Linked DNA regions of Homo sapiens: region 1 is linked to region 2. Evidence: promoter capture Hi-C in 16 types of primary human blood cells and fetal thymus (Javierre and others, 2016). All regions are on one chromosome and are shown on one strand. The core of a region is centred on a gene start or on the middle of the fragment in contact, and the rest is flanking DNA. Distances in the headings are between cores, read along the strand shown. Region 1 holds the start of SFRP1 (secreted frizzled related protein 1). Region 2 holds the start of ZMAT4 (zinc finger matrin-type 4).

What was found. The method cuts DNA at HindIII sites, captures the fragments that hold promoters and counts their contacts. A CHiCAGO score of 5 or more calls a contact.
Region 1: a contact is called between the fragment with the promoter of SFRP1 here and the fragment with the promoter of ZMAT4 in region 2, in 3 of 17 cell types (naive CD8 T cells, M0 macrophages and naive B cells). The highest score is 9.1, in naive CD8 T cells.

The regions. Positions count from the first base shown.
Region 1 is chr8:41,307,648-41,311,571 of GRCh38, forward strand. It overlaps SFRP1 (secreted frizzled related protein 1), which reads right to left and starts at 1,826. Exons shown (of 3, transcript NM_003012.5): 1 at 969-1,826. The coding sequence starts at 1,512. RefSeq lists enhancers at 4-775, 776-1,546, 3,466-3,924. The HindIII fragment of the contact is 12,075 bases long and covers 1-3,924 here.
Region 2 is chr8:40,896,412-40,900,249 of GRCh38, forward strand. It overlaps ZMAT4 (zinc finger matrin-type 4), which reads right to left and starts at 1,415. Exons shown (of 7, transcript NM_024645.3): 1 at 1,272-1,415. The HindIII fragment of the contact is 2,974 bases long and covers 512-3,485 here.

The DNA.
Region 1 (3,924 bases), core at 576-3,075, 410 kb after region 2:
AATTTACTTCTATAGAAGTCAGGTCTGTGATGTGTATATTTTATCTTTATATCTATTTCATTTTATTTGACTTCCCAGGATTTTTTTTTCTTCCCCCTCAAGAATTGCTCTTTAAACATAAGGGGGTTTTGAGAGGAACCTCGGGCCGGTCCCTCAGGCTGTTAGGAAAGTCTGCATTTTGCAGAGCTGCTCTCCCCGGGAGGAGATGAACAATGAGCTAATTACATTTTTATCTTTCTAATGAGCTGAGGATTTGTGTAAATGAGAAAAGCAGGGGGTACGCTAGAGGGAGGGAGAAAAGACTTTCCACCCCCAGCCCTCCGAGGGCAGAGCTGGTACCTGGAAGGGGTGGAGAAACAGAAGTCCCCACGGTTCCTAAACTTTCTCAGCCAGTTTTGCAGCAATCCCAAGGCTACTTGACTGAATGACCAGTGAAGGAAAGGGCTTGGTTTTATTTTTTAAATCTTTGTCGAACCTATGAAAATAAACAAAAGCTGCTCCAAGCATTCTCTCGGCCTTTCTGAACTTTCTACGCTTTGGGTTTTTGTTTTTTCCTCCCGTCTCAGAGGTTAAAAACTTCGATAGGGACTCGGAGTCCTCCTAGAGGAGAGGGAAGCTCCCCTGTTATTTAAAGCGCAAGGCTTTGTTTCAGGTATGGGAAAGGCGAAGTTGGATCCCAGGAAGAGCGGCTCCGGGGACCACAGCGAGTCCCTGCGAGGCCAAGGCGCAGAGCTGCCGCTCCCGGGCCAGCCCCGCCGTGCACCTGGGTCGCGAGGGGCGCTGAGCGATACCTGGGACAGACCAGACGCGCTTAGGAATCACGTGCACAGCATGCGAGCAACCTCGGGCCCTCAGTCCCCAGCACCGGGACCCAGCGGCGGGCGGGCGTAGGGTGGCGCGGGTTCTCCTGCAGCTCCGGCCGGGGGATGGAGGGGGCGGCTCGCGCACGTGGGAGGAGGCAGCCTTACCTTGGGGCTTGGAGGCTTCGGTGGCATTGGGCGGCGTCATGGCGATGCAGACGTCCCCCTCGGGGAACTTGTCACACTTAAGCATCTCGGGCCAGTAGAAGCCGAAGAACTGCATGACCGGCTCGCACGAGTCGCGCACGGCCTCGCAGAGCCAGCGACACGGGTAGATGGGCCGGTCCAGGCAGACGGGCGCGAAGAGCGAGCAGAGGAAGACCTGGGTGCCGGCGTGGCAGTTCTTGTTGAGCAGGGGCACCCAGCTGCTGGCCTGCTGCTTCACCTCCGCCATGGTCTCGTGCTCCAGCAGGTTGGGCAGCACCATCTTCTTGTAGCCCACGTTGTGGCACAGCCGCAGGTCCGCGGGGATGTCCACGCACTGAGGTGGCTTGGTGTAGAAGCGCCCGCTCTGGTACGGGCCGATGTCCGACTGGAAGCTCACGTAGTCGTACTCGCTGGCCGAGCCCACGGCCAGAAGCGCCGCGCCCAGCGCCAGCAGCACGCCCAGGGCTGCCCCGCGGCGGCCCCCCTCGCTGCGCCCGATGCCCATGCCGGCTCTGCGCCCTGTTCTCCGCGACGTCGGGGCTGCCTCCGCCGCCTCCCCGCGCGCGTCCTGCCGCAAACTTCCAGGGACCTCCGGGGACAAAAGGCGCAGTCCCCAGCGTTGCCCGGCTCCGCGGCCGCAAGCTGCTGCCCGGTCCCCCCGGCCAGTGGCGGCCCTCGGCCTGCGGTCGGAGGCGGCGCGGGCGGGGAGGCGGCGCTGCGGGCTGGGTGCGCCCCGGCTCCCGGAGGTGCGGCGAGCAGGAAGGCGCGGGGCGGCGGGCGCGCGGCACTGACTCCGGAGGCTGCAGGGCTGGAGTGCGCGGGGCTCCTACGGCCGAGCCCTCGGAGCCGCCCCGCGCAGCCAATCAGCTCCCGGCGGGGCGAGCCGCACTCGTTACCACGTCCGTCACCGGCGCGGGAGCCAATCGCCTCCCTCGCGAGCGGGTTCGGTTTACTAGAACCAGACGCGGCTCAACACCCCTTAAAAAACAAAACCAAAAATACATAAATAAAAGGGGGAGGAGGAAAGAGACAAGGGGAGAAAAAGAAGGGGAATGGATCACGGCGTGGGGTGGAGAGAGACCAGGGCGGACGCTGTAATTAACTCGCATTGGCTTGCAGAGAAGCGGGGAGCCTGGATCATACTTGCAAACCCATGAAATTATGAAGACTTTTTTTTTTTGAGACAGTTTCGCTCTTGTTGCCTAAGCTGGAGTGCAATGGCGCTATCTCCGCTGACTGCAACCTCCGCCTCCCGGGTTCAAGCGATTCTCCTGCCTCAGCCTCCCGAGTAGCTGGGATTACAGCCGCGTGCCACCATGCCCCCGCTAATTTTTTGTATTTTTAGTAGAGACGGGGTTTCACCATGTTAGCCAGGCTGGTCTCGAACTCCTGACCTCAGGTGATGCTCCTGCCTTGGCCTCCCAAACTTTTTTTTTCTTTTTCTTTACACTGCTTCCTAATTTCAACCAACAGCCCTTTAGACTAGCGGCTCCTCTCCTCGGTTCTCTAGCTGCGGTGCAGACAGGTGGTTTCCCAACTAACAGGGGTTCAGGAAGGCTGAAGCGAGGGAGGTCTGCTTGTAAATACCCAGTGGGCCTGGCTGGGCTCCCTGGAAGGCGAGGCGAAGGCGCAGTTGGAGCTGTTTGCTGTGAGCAGCACCTCTCCAGGTGGGGCCGCCCATGGTGGCCCTCAACACTGGGGCAGTGGGTGGACTTTGCCCGGTGTGGCGGCAGGAAGAGCTGCTAGCAACGGTATTAGCTCTGGGAGGACACTTTTTTAAATATATAATATATATTTAAATAGAAAAACCCTACTCAAGTCCTAGCCCGGGCGACAGCACATCTGTGTGTTTGTGGTGTGGAAAGCCAAAACATTAAAAACACATGTGCACTTATCAGCGTGGCTGGTGTAAATACCAAGTCCATCACTCAGGCACACATGCTAAGGTTAGACCCAGTCCAGGAACTTCAAGTTAAAATCAAGGGTCCCCACTAGGGCAGACGCCAAGAGGACGGTATCAGCACAACAGCTCGGCCCCCAGGAACAGAAGTCTCTCTGCCACCTTCTACCTCGAATTCCTGAGAATTCTTCGTAGGTTTCAAACATTCCCCTGAGAGGGAGGGTTAAGCTCTGGAGAGCTGGGAGTGAGACCCGGACTATCCCGGGACAGAAGACCACAGCAAATAGTTCATGAAGTTCCTGGAGTCTCCATATCTTCTGTCCCTAAGTGCGGGTGGAGAGAGGCTGATATATTCATAGCCCAGTCTGAGCGCACACCCCATGTGGCAAAGGGGTCACAGATCTTAGCGCTCCACAGAGACACTATAGGGCGCGCTGCCTTGCCCGCCAGCTTGTTTGTAAAGCTCTAGGGAGCTTGCTTTGGACTCTGCAAACCTAATTTCTTGATGGACAGATTCCAAGTGAAATGACTAGAGTTTGTGAAGAAGCAGGGCTGTTTTCTTAAAGCATTCGTGCCCGTACAGACACGGTGATTCCACGGTGCACACAGGAGGCTTCTGCAGATGGATGACTTCTCTGTCATTTCGTGGCCAATGGAAGATGCCTTGACACTCAAAAGGTGACATGGAGGCTGGAAGGAAAACACAGAGAAGAGAGAGCAAGATCGGGATGGCCAAGGGTTAATCCCAAGACAATTGGTGAGGCCGGCCTGTGGAGCTGAGGAAGACATTCCTCACAGAGAATAAGACCGCAGGAGACCCGGCAACTGTGTCTCAATTCAAGGGGCATTTAGAGAAAAATGCTGTTTGGTAGGGGGTCTTTTTGTCTCCTAGGGCCAGGCCCTCCACCTCAAGCCAAATGCGTCTGTTTGCTCACTGCAAAGATGGATGTTTGCAGATAACATCCTCTCACCTCTGAACCCAGGCTTAGCTGACCGCTCACTCACGTTTTCAGTTTT
Region 2 (3,838 bases), core at 165-2,664:
GATCACCCCCAGACTATCAGCTTCAGAGTATCCCGCAGGTAGGCAGCGCAACTGGTGAAGTGCGGTGGGCACACAAGCAGAAGCTGCCTTCGCAGAAGAGGAAGAAAGTTCGAGACCAAGCACATCGCCTGCTTCCCCATGGGTCCCTGCTTCCTAGTGACTCACCTACCTAATATCTCCCTTTAGCAGAAGCCAAAGGCGGAGGAGGCAGGGGGAGAAAGGAGTTTCCCAAGGGTCTCAGAGCAAGAGAGGCCCCTGAGGTCTCGCGATTTAGAATGCTCAAGGGTGCTTCTGGGCTGAACCAGCTGCCTGCCGGGGTGAGCTGTTTTACTTCAAGAGCAGTTAGCAGAAGCAGTGTGGATGGTGACTTCAGCACCACCTCTGCCACAAATGCACCTGTGCACCAAAACAACCTGCGCACCTACACGGAGCCACCCCCTCCACCAGCCTCCACCTCCCAGAGCTGCGGGGATGCTCCGGGCCAGGCACCCCTTCTGGGGACAAGGGTGTAAGCTTCACATGGTACCAAACCGAACTCTCTATCCCGTTTTTTGGCTTTTTCTTTTTTTTTTTTTTTCAGGATACCCCAAGCCTGGAAAGTCTTCCAGAGTTTTCGGGAGCTAATTAATTATGTGATTTCCTCTCCTCTGAGAACTGTTTTGCTGGCGTGTCACCAAGTTGTCACGTAGGTGCCCACCAGGTCAAACAGAATAGACCATCCTCACCCACCCACCCCGGGGAATGTCTCCTTCCACCAAATAAAATGAACTGAGACAGGCAGGAAGGAGGCAGAAGTTTGAGGAAGGACTCCAGTTGAAGGTCACAATAGTTTGGGGAAGGCAGATCAAGGTAATACGAAGGGGACAGACCCTATAGCGGAAAACACAAACAACCAATCACGTTTCTCTCGGAACCAGCCTATCCATGATGGGTGCACCAGGAAACAGCACACCCTGGGATCCAACTTCTTTCACCCAGCACACCCGAATCTCCACCCCAGCCCTGCAGACACCCTAGCCTGAGACCAGACCTATTTAGACAGACCTGAGCGCAGCTAATTAGGAGTAGTAAACAAGCCCATTTCTTGCCAGCGCAGAAGTTTCCCAAATTGTCCGCTTGTTTTCCTCCCAACAAAAGACAGTGATTTCCCACCTTTATCACATTCCCTCCCAGAAACTTTTCTTTCTGCAATCCCTCCACCTAGGCTAAACTGCAAAGCCACTGGCAATGGAGACGCAGGCGCTGCACCCCCGGGACGCAGGCAGAGGTACCTTTTCCGCGAGGCAGAGGGGCCGCCGGTGCCCAGAGGCCAGCTGCCCTGCCGAGCAGTAGAGCGAAGCTGTGGGCTGGAGCACGCTGAGGATTACACGTTCCTGTCTCTGCGACCAGACCTTTCGGCAGCTCGGACCAACTGTGCTAGCGATGCACTTAGCAATTATCTGCTGGCTCCGACGCCCCGCCCTCTGCTCTTGCGATTGGCTCTCCAGTCCCGGGCAGGACTGCATTGGTTTCAGCCGACCTCACTCATTGCTTTGGCTCCTACTATTATCTAAGCCATCAAAGGAAATAATTCCATGTTTCATTGACAACCTGTAAGGCTCTCCTCCAGCCCAATGTGGGGGCAGGACCGGGAGGCCAGTGGAGAGAGGGGAGAGGAGTAGGAAAATGTGGGGGAGCGGGGTGGGGGAAGGAGGTGGAGGGGAGAGGAAAAGAAGGAGAAACTGTGGGGGGGTAGGAGGGTAGGAGGGAGAGAGAGAGAGAGATGGAGCTATCAAGCAATCAGATTCTTGCTCTAGCATTTTAACTTCCACAAAACAGAGCCCATAGCAACAATTTTCTGGCTTTATTTTCCCCCTAACTGGTAAATGTTGCTGAGGGCAGAGAGAATAATAACTATGGGGTGTCTGCCGGCATGAGACAGACTCTAGAAAGCCGAGCAAGGTTGAGGGCTGAAGGGATGGAGTAATGCTTTTCACAGGGCCACCCTGGAGGACATGTGAAGGACATGGCAGATTGCTTGGGGAGCATAGTAGGTGCATACCTGGAGTTTATCTATCAGTACTTTATCTCACAGTCCCCCTCATCCCCCAACCTGAGGAGACAATTTTCCTTTGCACCCTGTCCAAAGAGTCTCAGAAGAGCTATTCTTAAAATCCATAAAACTCTGGAGTTTCTCACTGTTCTCACTGGGAGGTCCAGAAAGCCGAGCATTCTAGAGTGAATGATTCTGCTGGGACCCTCACTTTGGTTTATTCTGACATGGCTTAAATTAATCGCTTAGACTTTCATCAACAACCTACGCACGTGAAGAGAGAACATACCCATCAAAGGGTGGGGACAGCTTAAACACTTTTCCTTGTTCACCAAGAAATCATAAAGTCTCACCCTAGTTAAAATGGCTTTTATCCAAAAGACAGGCAATAACAAATGCTGGCAAGGATGTGAAGAAAAGAGAATGAACCCTCCTACATTGCTGGTGAGAATGTGAATTAATGCAGCCACTATGGAGAACAGTATTGGGGTTTGTCAGAAAACTAAATATAGAGCTACCATCTGATCCAGCAATCCCACTGCTAGGTATATACCCCCAAAAAAGAAATCAGTATCTTGAAGAGATTCCTGCACTGCCATGTTTATTGCAGCTCTGTTCACAATAGACAAGATCTGGAAGCAATGTAAGTGTCCATCAACAGATAAATTAGATGAAGAAAATGTGGTACATATGCGTAGTGGAGTACTATTCAGCCATAAAAAGGAATGAGATCCTGTCATTTACAACACCATGGATGGAACTGGAGGACATTCTGTTAAATGAAATAAAACAGGCATGGAAAGACAAACTTCACATGTTTTCATTCATTTGTGAGAGCTAAAAATTAAAACAATTGAACTCATGGACAGAGAGAATAGAATGATGGTTACCAGAGGCTAGGAAGGGGCGGGGGTGGAATGGTTACTAGGTACAAAAATAGAGTTAGATAGAATGAATAGGATCTGGTATTTGACAGCACAACAGGGTTATTACAGTCAGCAAAACATATTGTACATTTTAAAATAACTGAAAGAGTACAATTGGATTGTTTGTAACAAAAGGAAATGCTAAATGCTTGAGGTGCCAGATACCCCATTTACCCTAATGTGATTATTACACATTGCATGCCTGTATCAAAATATCTCGTGTACCCCATAAATATATACACCCACTATGTTCCCATAAAATTAAAAATTTTTAAAAATTAAGAAGAAATCATAAAGCACAAATTTTGACCTTCCCCTCTCCTTAATGTATTTGTCACCATATGGAAAAGACATCACTTGGCAGCTAAATTTTCTTAACTAGGTAAAATATTTATTATTAATGTTTCTAAAATGAAAGAGCTTTTATAAATCAATAAGTACAAGACCTATAACCCAATTCAAAAATGGCAAAGGACAAAATGGGCTGAATTTTTTAAGAGAGAATTATAAAAGCGTCTTTTAAAGAAAGCTTTTAAAATATCAAATTTCAGATGATCCAGAAACTAACCCTTCAGCCTTCTTATCCTAGGATCTCCATGTCTTTGGTGAGGCTCTGGTCCCAGTCCTGCCCTGGCCTCCCCTGGGGCCTTGAATGGCTGTAGTCCTTATCTTCAGCTGCGTCCTCTGCAGCAAATGGCAGGTGCCCCACTGCCTTGTATGGTGACTTTCTATTTCATGCATACATGCCTGGCTTCCCTAAATACATTTCAAGCCCTGTAAAGACAGAGATGGTATCATGCATATTTTTATCACTCCACAGATAGCACCTAGCACTCAATAAGTGGGCTGACTACTAAAACCCAATTCAAAGCATCCAGGG